Regions from separate parts of the Homo sapiens genome. Here all the other regions are linked to region 4. Evidence: promoter capture Hi-C in human tissues and cell types (Jung and others, 2019). All regions are on one chromosome and are shown on one strand. Each heading gives the region's core, a stretch centred on a gene start or on the middle of the fragment in contact. The rest is flanking DNA. Distances are from core to core; before and after follow the strand shown.

Region 1 (2,744 bases), core at 233-2,732, 330 kb after region 4:
AAAGCAGTTGATCCTAAGACACGTTTACTTATGTATAAAATGGTCAACTCTGGAATGTTGGAGACAATCACTGGCTGTATTAGTACAGGAAAGGAGTCTGTTGTCTTTCATGCATATGGAGGGAGGTAAATGAGCAAAATATGATACCATGATATGAAAACTTAGTCTCTTCTCCCCAAGATTAATGAATTTACACAGAATCAAAGATAATGCTGCATGGCAAGCAGAGTAATTTTTAAAGTGTTATTGTAGAAAGTCTAGGCAGTATAGGAATGTATAAAAAACACAGTCATCCTAATACCACCACCCAGAGATAATCATTAATAATTTTGGGTAGACTTCTCCAGTTTTTTTCAATGCGTATATTATTATTATTATTATTATTATTTTTTGAGATGGAGTTTCACTCTTGTTCCCCAGGCTGGAGTGCAGTGGCGTGATCTTGGCTCACTGCAATCTCTGCCTCCCGGGTTCAAGCAAGGTCTCCTATCCCAGCCTCCAGAGTAGCTGGGATTACAGGCACATGCCACCACGCCTGGCTAATTTTTGTATTTTTAGTAGAGACAGGGTTTCGCCATGTTGGCTAGGCTGTCCTCAAACTCCTGACCTTAGGTGATCCACTCGCCTTGGCCTCCCAAAGTGCTGGGATTACAGGCGTGAGCCACTGCTTCCGGGCTTCCTCATCTTTATCAGTGTTTAGTATTATCAAATCTAATGCTTTTTGTCAGTGTGAGAGATGAAAAGTAACATCTTGGTATTTTGGTGTGCATTTATTTAATTATGATTAAGTTGTACATTTTTTCCAAGTGCTTTATTGGCCATTTGTATTTCTTTTTCTTGTCTTCTCTCTTGTTTATCCTTTGTCCATTTTCTGTTATACTCAATATACTCCTTTTTTTTTTTTTTTTTTTTTTTTGGGAGATGGAGTTTTGCTCTTGTTGCCCAGGGTGGAGTACAATGGCGCAATCTCAGCTCACTGCAACCTCCATCTCCTGAGTTCAAGCGATTCTCCTGTCTCAGCCTCCCAAGTAGCTGGGATTACAGGCACGCACCACCACGCCTGGCTAATTTGTGTGTTTTTAGTAGAGATGGGCTTTCACCATGTTAGCCAGGCTGGTCTCAAACTCCTGACATCAGGTGATCCACCCATCTTGGCCTCCCAAAGTGCCAAGATTACAGGCGTGAGCCACTGCGCCTGGCCTGGTATACTTAATATACTCTAATATAATAAATGTTCAGTCTTTCTGGTGGAATTGGTATCATAATCTGTACTTTGACATTTCTAAGTTAGCAAAACTAGAGAACATTCAGTTTTCTACAGCTAAAAGTTAATGCTTTTAAAAGTTTGTTAGTTTTCTGTGGTACATAATAAATTGCCACAGACTTAGCAGCCAAAACAGCATCCATTTATTATCTCATAGTTTCTGTTGACAGAATCCAGGCATGGCTTAACTAGGTTCTCTGTTCAGGGTTTCACAAGCCTGCAGTCTAGGTGTTGGCCAGGCTGTGTTCCTTTCTGGAGCTTGGCGTCCTCTTCCCTTGGCCACCTTTCAGTTGCAGCTATACGACTGAGGTCCCACTTTCTTGTTGGCTGTCAGCAGTGGGCTGCTCTCAACTCCTTGAGGCCCCTGCAGTTCCTTGCCATGGGGCCGTCTCACAGGCCTCTTCACACACTAGCTCTCACACTTTCAAAGCCAGCAGGAGAATCTCTCCAGTCTGCTAAGACTGAGACTTAGTGTTATGTTATCATGGGAATGACTAGACCATCACCTTTGCCACATAACCTAACCAGGGAGTGGCTATCCCACACATGCTCAAGGGAAGGAGGTATTATACAGGGGTGTGCACACCAAGGGGGCTGGGAGTTTTGCTTTCCACAAAGCTCTGGTTCCTTTCTTTCTTCCTCTCTCTCTCTCTCTCTCTCTCTCTCTCTCTCCCCCTCTCTCCCCCTCTCTCCCTCCCTCCCTCCCTCCCTCCCCTCCCTCCCCTCTCTCCTCTCTCCCCTCTCTCCTCTCTCTCTCTCTCTCTCCCTCTCCTCTCTCCTCTCTCTCTCTCTCTTTTTCTTTCTTTCTTTCTTTTTCTTTCCTTCTTTCTTTTTTTTTTTGAGATGGAGTCTTGCTCTGTCACCCAGGCTGGAGTGCAATGGCGCAATCTTGGCTCACTGCATCCTCTACCTCCCAAGTTCAAGTGATTCTCCTGCCTCAGCCTCCCCGGTAGCGGGGATTACAGGTACACACTACCATGCCCGGCTAATTTTTGTATTTTTAGTAGAGACGGGGTTTCACCATTTTGGCCAGGCTGGTCTCAAATTCCTGACCTTGTGATCCAACTGCCTCAGCCTCCCAAAGTGCTGGGATTACAGGCGTGGGCCACTGTGCCTGGGTCAAAGCTCTGGTTTCTGTCACTCTCAGGTTGGTCAGGCAATCAACAATTATTCAAACAGTAATTTGTGCTAGATTACTCAGGGAATAAAATATAAGACATATTTTTTACTCTCAAAGAGCTTAAGCTTTAGCTAAAAGGAGAACATTACAGTAAGAACCATTATGGTCAATGAAAGATAATTACATAATAGAGTACCCAGTTATGCAAACGAGACCTTATATGGGATAGGAATAGCGAATAGAACAAGATCATTGCCAGGCACATTCAGGGAAGATATCATAATGAAGTTGGATCTCAATCTGGATTTTAAAAATAGGTTAAAAAAAGAAATCCGTTGGAGGACCGATGGGGGCGGATCA
Region 2 (2,700 bases), core at 7-2,506, 300 kb before region 4:
CCCCTTTAAAAGCACTCACTTTCTGCTCCAAAAGCGAAGCCACACCCTTAAGGCAGGAAGCCTGTACTTCTTCCCCTAAGCTAGTTTCAGAATAAAAAATCACTTTCTTTATACTAGATCTCGCTCTTGTTAATCAGACTCTGAAAGCAGAGATTGACTGAACCTGCATTTCAGTTACAGAAAGGAAACGTAATTGTAGGCAGAGAGGCTCATGAGATGAAACCGTCTGACAGCCAGAACCCTCCTAGAAAACTAAGGTGATTAAATCTTTAAGGCAGTCTTCTCAATCTCTTTAGAACTGTTTTTTTTCAATATACCTCCTTGCTTACACAATTTGAATTACCAATAAAAATAAATTGAGAAGAAAATGCATTAAAATGCTTTATGATACACTGTCAGATCACAGGAAGGTCTTAAGTATGTCACAAAAGATAAATAAGCTTCAAAAAACTATAAATATTCTATATCCCTGTTGAGTACAGCTTGAAAACTCAAGCTTAGTAGTGCTTACCAGCTTACAGACTCCTGCATATCCTGACTGCTGACCTTTAAGCCTATAGTTTCTGTTTTGATCTTAAGATGATATAGCTGTTCATTAGACTCAGGGAACTCCCACAGCCCTGAACAGGGGTCACTAACGTAATCTCTCCTTTCTCTGCCTTATCTCCATTATAAATCCAAGATACCTTTGGAGATGAATAGGTATCAAGTTATCTGACTTACCTTAGCCATACAAGCATCCTAGGAATTTTTCCTGATGATACAATAAGAGTAAACGGGCTCCAAAAATGCAATGAGCATATGCAAAGCTTTGCTCCACCTTTCTTATTTTTTCCACCCAACATTTATCATTACCCCCAAAATGCCAAATGAGGGACAAAAGAGAGATACCAACAGAGGAAATAAACTTGAAGAGACATTAGAAGAATGATTCATTGAGATAACAGAGAAAAAAGCATATACTCCAGGCAGTTTAAGAAAGTTACCTAATAGGGCATAGGTTCAAGATACCCAACGTGAGCCAAGAAAACCCCCTATGTTGCCAAATGTCAAATAGCATCATTATTATCAGTCTCATTGATAAATTATCGGGTTTTTATGTATTGTCTGGGAATTTACATTCTAACACCCCTGAGATGTAAAAAGAGAGAAATAAATATAGGCATGAGGAAACGCAAGGCAAATAGCTACTCAGAAGATAAAAACACTTGTATAATGCAGGTGTCATGAAGCAATCACACTGCACTACAGACCAGGGAGCGTGAATCTACCTCAGACCGACCACTCAATCCAAAATTACTCAATGATATTGGTAGTGTGTGATCATCTGTATGAGCTAAAGCATTGTTATGCCAAGGCACACCTGTCCACAAAATGACACCTCTATATTTCACAGATCCAAAAAGCCACTGTGGAACCAGAGAGAATGGGAATTTGTGGTCTGAATTATCTAACCTGTGCCAGACTTGTTATTCCACTTAACTATGATGTAAACTGTTCAGATGTATTTAGTTTGCCTTATTCTTTAAAATTAAAAATGGAAAGTGTTTATCGAAATGAAGATCCAGAAGTACCTACTGAGCCTATTTCCTCTCAGCTGTTTTCAACTGTAAAACACAAATATGTCTAACATTCTTTAAAATTAAAAATGCAAAGTGTTTATCTAAATGAAGTTCCAGAAGTACCTACTAAGCCTATTTCCTCTCAGCTGTTTTCAACTGTAAAACACAAATATGTCTAACCCACGAAGCCTATAATCATTAGCAGCTGGGTTGCTGTGTGTTGTAGTCATGAAAATGCTCCTCTCAGACCTCCTGTTGGAGACAGCTTAATTGATCCTGTCCCTCTGGATGCAGCACTGCATCTACCCGAAGGCCATACTTCCTAGCCAATGATAGAGCACAGCAGATACTAAGGCAGGCCCATTCTGGCAATATACAGGACTCCTGAGTAACTTCTATTTTAGGACTCACCATCGACCTGGCCAAACTTTCTTAGCACTACATGGCAGTCTGAGACCCATCCTACCCAATCCTGCTACTTTCCTTCTTCTTTGCTACACTGTGGTTCTGAAGTTTCTCTCCACCTCCTCCTGCTCCCTCCTTCAGTAATCTCTTTCATATCTAATCCTAGCTTGAGATTTATTTGGAATGGGTCCAAATCAAAACAGGTGGTACACAGAGTGGTGTGAGAAAACAGGCAGGAAGATGGGGATTTGGGATTGGCTCACTCACCCAACATTAGATTAAGTGGGGGCCATCTTGTGTGGTAGGTAGGGTACAGATAGTCCCTGGCCCAAGGTAGGGGCCCAACTGCTCAAGATTTCACCCACAATGACCTGAGAAAATGTCCCGGTGGAAGGGAACAATCATTCAGTTCCAATCATTCAGGCATTTGAAAAAACAACAGGTGTGCTGGCTCACACCTGTAATCCCAGCACTTTGGGAGGCCGAGGCGGGTGGATCATCTGAGGTCAGGAGTTCTAGACCAGCCTGATCAACACGGTGAAACCCTGTCTGTACTAAAAATACAAAATTGCTGGGTGGGGTGGTGCATGCAGAGCTCCAAAGACGTCTGAATGATCCACCAAGGTAGGTCTACTATGGTAAGGTCAGGGCCCTACTTGGGAAAAACTAGGATCCAGAAAAATGAGATGAGAACATCTAGATGGATGCCTCCTCAAGATACTGGTTATGAAGA
Region 3 (2,703 bases), core at 95-2,594, 480 kb after region 4:
AAGGCTGGGAGTTTGAGACCAGCTTGGACAATATAGTGAGACCCTATCTCTACAACAAATTTAAAAATTAGATGGGTGCAGTGGTGTGTGGCTGTAGTCCCAGCCGAGGCAGGAGGATTACTTGAGCGCAAGAATTCAAGATTACTGTGAGCTATGATTGCATCACTGTACTCAAGCTTGGGCAACAGAGTGAAACCCTGTCTCTGAAAAAATGTAAATTTATACTATATATATATAGTATATATATATATACACTATATATACAGTATATATATATATATACTATATATACTATATATATAGTGTATAGTAAATACATTCTGTAGTATATATTTCCTATAGTAATATTTATATATTAATAAATATATCTTTACTGTAGTAAATATATTAGTAATTAGTAATATTTATTACTATTTACTATTTAGTAATATTTACTAAAATGTTAGTAAGCATTACTATTAATATAATAAATAATATAATATAATAAAATTAATATAATCAATAATATAATTATATTAGTAAACAGAAATACTAATATTTATTAAGACTTTACAGAAAAAGTTTGCTGACTCCTGATATATAATATAGGTTAGAAATATTTTAATCAAAAATGATCAAAATTTAGGCCAGATAGGGTGGCTCATGCCAGTAATCCCAGCACTTTGGGAGGCTGAGGCAAGTGGATCACTTGAGGTCAGGAGTTCAAGACCAGCCTGGCCAATATGGTGAAACCCCGTCTCTACTAAAAATACAAAAAGCTGGGTGTGGTGGCAGCGTGCCTGTAATCCCACCTACTTGGGAGGCTGAGACAGGAGAATCACTTGAACCTGGGAGGCAGAGGTTGCAGTGAGCCGAGATCGTGCCATTGCACTCCAGTCTGGGCTACAAAGGGAGACTCCATCTCAAAAAAGCAAAACAAAACAAAACAAAAAGATCAAAACTTAAAAAAAGAGTTTTGGCTCTGTTTTTTAGGTGACCCAGGTATCCATACTGACATATTTTCTGAGGCTTCCAGGTGTTTGAGGCTTATTTTATTTCACTTAAGGGAACAAAACAGAGTGGTTCTTTGCTTAAGAAAATGAAGAGAACAGACATAAGTGTCTGTTCTTCTTCCTTGATTTCACAAATCCTCCAAATGGTGTCAAAATGGCATACTTTCCAATTAGCTATTTCATTACTACTGTCGATTTTTTTTTTTCTGCAAAACTAGGTAATGACAGACTGTGGTTCACTCTTTCTACCACCTCCCCACTTCTACCAGAGCCCCTGGGATCTCCAGCATCAAGAAGCTGCAGGTGTGTTCTTTCAAGAATCCAACTAACCAGGCTAACTGCACCCAAATTCGACACAGTCCCCAAGTGAGGACTTACTTTCTAACCTCTCTCTTACAGATTAGTAAAATTTATCTTTAGGTCTTACCTTCAAAATACCAAGAGTGGGTGAGAATTTAAGCAACTCTTTTATGACATCATTATACCCTTTGTTGGCTGCTTTCAATAATGCTGTTGTGCCATCCTTAACAGAAAGAGGAAAATAAAAGTTGATTATTAACATATATCTGTGTTGCTTGAAAGCAGTCAGTTGGGAACTGGAAAGTACCGTTGTCAGAAACTAATGACGTGTAAATTAAGCACAGATCAGCAATGTCTCTTAATCTAGGAGCATTTTAGAGAATATTAAGCAGTAAATTCTGCATGAAAGAGTATCAGATAAACAGTGACTTAGATTATGTTAGAACTCTGCCATTTGGGAATTCATACTTCTACAGTTCCTGAGAACACTGGGCAGGGGACAAGGGGAATTTCAAGAGCATATTTTTAGGCCATGGTTGGACCAAAGAGGCATTCTCGGCTGTTCATAACTTAGCAGAAATGGTTAACTGTCTTTAATAATTTAGATCATTGTTGAGCTGTATTTACTGTTTCTAAAAAAATTTATACAGCCTTGCCCTAGTCTGCTCTAGGCATCCGCCCGTGTGTGGGTAGTGGGGCTTAGGGGCAGAGGTGATAGATTAAAATCTGCTAAAAGGCCAGGTGCAGTGGCTCACGCCTGTAATTCTAGCACTTTGGAAGGCCAAGGCAGGAGGGTCACTTGAAACCCCGTCTCTACCAAAAATACAATAGCCGGGTGTGGTAGCCCGTGCCTGTAGTCCCAGCTACTCGGGAGGCTGAGGCACGAGAATCACTTGAACCCAGAGGCGGAAGTTACAGTGAGCTGAGACCGTGCCACTGCACTCCAGCCTGGGTGACAGAGTGAGACTCTGTCTCAGAAAAAAATAAAATAAAATCTGCTAAAAAGAATGAAAAGCCAAATTCAAAAATTAATATTTAGCTTCTGTCGTTATTTTTTGGCTCAAGAACACAGTTTCCAAATTCCTTTTTCTCCCATTTTCACATATCAGTCGCTGTGTTTGGAGGATTTAGTCCATAATTCTCCCGTAGCCAAGAAACCACTTCGGCCTGCCATTAGGGTTTATCTGTAATCAGAAAGAAGGAAGAATGAATTGGGGGGCGGGGGGTGGGGGTCTTTTCTGGCTTCAGAGATTGTGGGAAGAAGAAGAGTGAGAGAGAGGGCAGTGAAATGGTGGCGAACGCGTCTGGTGATTTCCCTTTTTTGGAGCTTAGACTTGGAGAGGGGAAGGTGGGTTACGTAAGCAAGGGTTATACAAAGGCCACAGTAAAACACAAAAAGCAAACAGCATAG
Region 4 (2,700 bases), core at 196-2,695:
GTTCATGTAAAGGGCCACGTGCCATCTCTGTCCTGAGCAAATGTAACCTGAAACCCTCTCTGTCTGGCACTCCGGGTTGGCGGCACCTCTCTGGACGGTGTATTTGCTCTCCATTACTCAATTTACTTTCCTGAACTTGAAATGGAGTGGAATTTCAATGTAGAGTTACCCATTAGCTCCAGGGCTAAATTTAAACCTTTAATTAAATTAATCCGTTGATCTGAAACACATTGCTTCTCCCTCAAAAGTGCAGCAGGTTTCTTAGGTGTCACAGAGCTTAATTCAGTGTGGCAATTGTTCCTTACTGCATTTGTTAAGTTGCCCATACCGCCTGGGGAAACCCGCACACGTTTTCAGATCCCTCCAGGTGAACTCCTCCACCCTGTCCCCGCCCCCGCCCCCACCCCCAACCAAAACAAGCATTCGTTGTGGGTGGGGACTGCGACTCCTCCCAGATTCAGAGCTACTGCTCTGGGAGGGCCGTCAGGAACCCGTATTTATAGAAGACATGGTAGGTGCCAAACGTGCTTATGAGATAAACGACAGGGTAACTGTCCACATTGGTCCCAGTTTATGAGGGAGAAGAGATCATAATCTACAAAAATTTGCAAGGTGACCAGGGGAAAAGAGTGTAAGGTCATTTTAGCCCACCTGGGTCTTCACAGAAAATGGAGCACATTTCAGAGCCAAAGTAAAAAATTTGCGTTGTCCTTTGCTAAGAGAGAGATGAAAAGTGACAATACCATGGATTGGGGATGCGTGAGTTCGTTGGCCACATGTAAGATGTTCGTGCTTCTGGGCTCTTATGCATCCCAAGGCGTGCATTTATCCCGGGGGCTGCATCCTTGGCCTGGGAATGAATAGACCCAACTGCAATGGTTGTTAGCGATAGCTTTACGGTGGGACAGTCTCCATAGGGGCTGTGGACTTACCCGTGTTATTATGAAAAGGATCTATTTACTTCTCGGGGACCAACGGCCTTGCGGGGTCCAAGTAACTCGCTCGCAGTCCAAAACTCTGCAACGCTCCACATAACCGTCCTGTAGACCCACAACTCTCCCAGGAGCACAGCCCCAGGACCTAACCCACCGGGTTCTGCTCGCTCACCCAATTCCCAGTGCGAGCGCGCGGGGGAAACGTGCTCGCCTCCCGCACCTGGCTTCCGCGGCCCCGGGAGTCGCCAACTCTCCCAGCAGGCAGCTCCGACAACCCGGACAGCCGGGCCGATCCCCCGCCCCACCACCCGCTCGGCTCTCGCGTCCTCCTCTTCCTCCTCCCGTGGCCCCTTGCCTCCCGCCGTCTGCCTCTGCGGCCGCCGCCTGCGGCTTTGTTTTCCTCCCAGGTCGCATTCCCCACACGTGATTCCGTGTTATTGCAAAGAGGGCTTTGGAGCGCGAGCGCGGGGCGCGCGCACCTATAAATACGGACACCCGGCCCCGGAGCCCGCGAGCCAGCGGCCAGGCGACCGGCGGGCGGCCAGCCAGCGAGCCGAACTAGCCGAGCTAGGTAGCGAGGCGTGCGCGTGGGCCGGGGCGGCGGCGCCCCCATCCCCAGCACCGAGGGGCGAGCATGGCCCGCCCGCGGGGGGGCTGGACCGCCGCGCACGCCGCCCGATCCCCGCGCCCTACCCAGCCCGGGTCGCCGCCGCTCGCGCCCGCCGCTTAGCGCTCGGGCGCCGCTCGCTTCTCCGGGCATCGCGGAAATCCCGCCGCAGACGGACACAATGGCGGCGGCGGCGGCGGCCGCCACCACGGCCGCCTGCAGCAGCGGCAGCGCCGGCACCGACGCCGCGGGCGCCAGCGGATTGCAGCAGCCGCCGCCGCAGCCCCAGCCTCAGCCCGCGGCCGCCGCGCCGGCCCAGCCGCCGCCCGAACCCCCCCGGAAGCCGCGCATGGACCCGCGGCGCCGCCAGGCTGCCCTCTCCTTCCTCACCAACATCTCGCTGGACGGCCGGCTGCCGCCGCAGGACGCGGAGTGGGGCGGTGGCGAGGAGGGCGGCGCGGCCAAGCCGGGCGCCGGCGGCGCCTGCGGCGCGAGGACTCGGTTCAGCTTGCTCGCCGCTGCCGAGCGGGGCGGCTGCATCGCGCTCGCCGCGCCGGGCACGCCGGCTGCGGGGTTAGCCGCTGGGTCCGGCCCCTGCCTCCCACAGCCCTCGTCGCTGCCGCCCTTGATTCCTGGCGGCCATGCGACCGTGTCCGGCCCCGGGGTGGCGCGGGGGTTCGCGAGTCCCCTGGGCGCCGGCCGGGCGTCGGGGGAGCAGTGGCAGCCGCCCCGGCCGGCGCCTCTCGCCGCCTGTGCCCAACTGCAGCTGCTCGACGGGTCCGGGGCCGCCGGGCAGGAGGAGTTGGAGGAGGACGATGCCTTTATCAGCGTGCAGGTGCCGGCGGCCGCCTTTTTGGGCTCCGGGACCCCCGGGAGTGGGAGCGGCAGTCGGGGACGCCTCAACTCGTTCACTCAGGGAATCCTGCCCATCGCCTTCTCCAGGCCGACTTCGCAGAACTACTGCTCCCTGGAGCAGCCAGGCCAGGGCGGCAGCACCAGCGCCTTCGAGCAGCTGCAGAGGTCCCGGTGAGTATCCGGGATGCGACGCGCACCCAACCCTGCGTCCCGCCCGGCGCTCCCAGCCTCCCCGCGGTCTCTGGGCTACGGGACACGGGTTGCTCCCATTTTCCCGCGCCCTGCCGGATCCTGTGCTCCGGG

What was found. The method cuts DNA at HindIII sites, captures the fragments that hold promoters and counts their contacts. A contact is called where the count stands out against the background at its distance.
Region 1: a fragment that was not itself captured here is called in contact with the fragment with the promoter of CABLES1 in region 4 in 1 of the 25 tissues and cell types used here (aorta).
Region 2: a fragment that was not itself captured here is called in contact with the fragment with the promoter of CABLES1 in region 4 in 4 of the 25 tissues and cell types used here (H1 embryonic stem cells, IMR-90 fibroblasts, bladder and 1 more).
Region 3: a fragment that was not itself captured here is called in contact with the fragment with the promoter of CABLES1 in region 4 in 2 of the 25 tissues and cell types used here (hippocampus and lymphoblastoid cells).

Annotation. Positions count from the first base shown.
Region 1 is chr18:23,467,402-23,470,145 of GRCh38, forward strand. RIOK3 (RIO kinase 3) reads left to right here. Exons shown (of 13, transcript NM_003831.5): 7 at 1-125. Among named protein-coding and RNA genes, the nearest start is that of RIOK3, 15 kb to the left of the region's middle. The HindIII fragment of the contact is 5,305 bases long and covers 1-2,744 here.
Region 2 is chr18:22,839,001-22,841,700 of GRCh38, forward strand. The region is part of intron 2 of RBBP8-AS1 (RBBP8 antisense RNA 1); the gene reads right to left. Among named protein-coding and RNA genes, the nearest start is that of RBBP8, 93 kb to the right of the region's middle. The HindIII fragment of the contact is 7,194 bases long and covers 1-2,700 here.
Region 3 is chr18:23,616,313-23,619,015 of GRCh38, forward strand. ANKRD29 (ankyrin repeat domain 29) reads right to left here. Exons shown (of 10, transcript NM_173505.4): 8 at 1,420-1,515. Among named protein-coding and RNA genes, the nearest start is that of NPC1, 31 kb to the left of the region's middle. The HindIII fragment of the contact is 7,344 bases long and covers 1-2,703 here.
Region 4 is chr18:23,134,040-23,136,739 of GRCh38, forward strand. CABLES1 (Cdk5 and Abl enzyme substrate 1) reads left to right here and starts at 1,446. Exons shown (of 10, transcript NM_001100619.3): 1 at 1,446-2,568. The coding sequence starts at 1,724. RefSeq lists silencers at 245-334, 345-454, 1,215-1,294, 1,415-1,624, 1,755-1,964 and 1 more and an enhancer at 645-794. The HindIII fragment of the contact is 17,284 bases long and covers 1-2,700 here.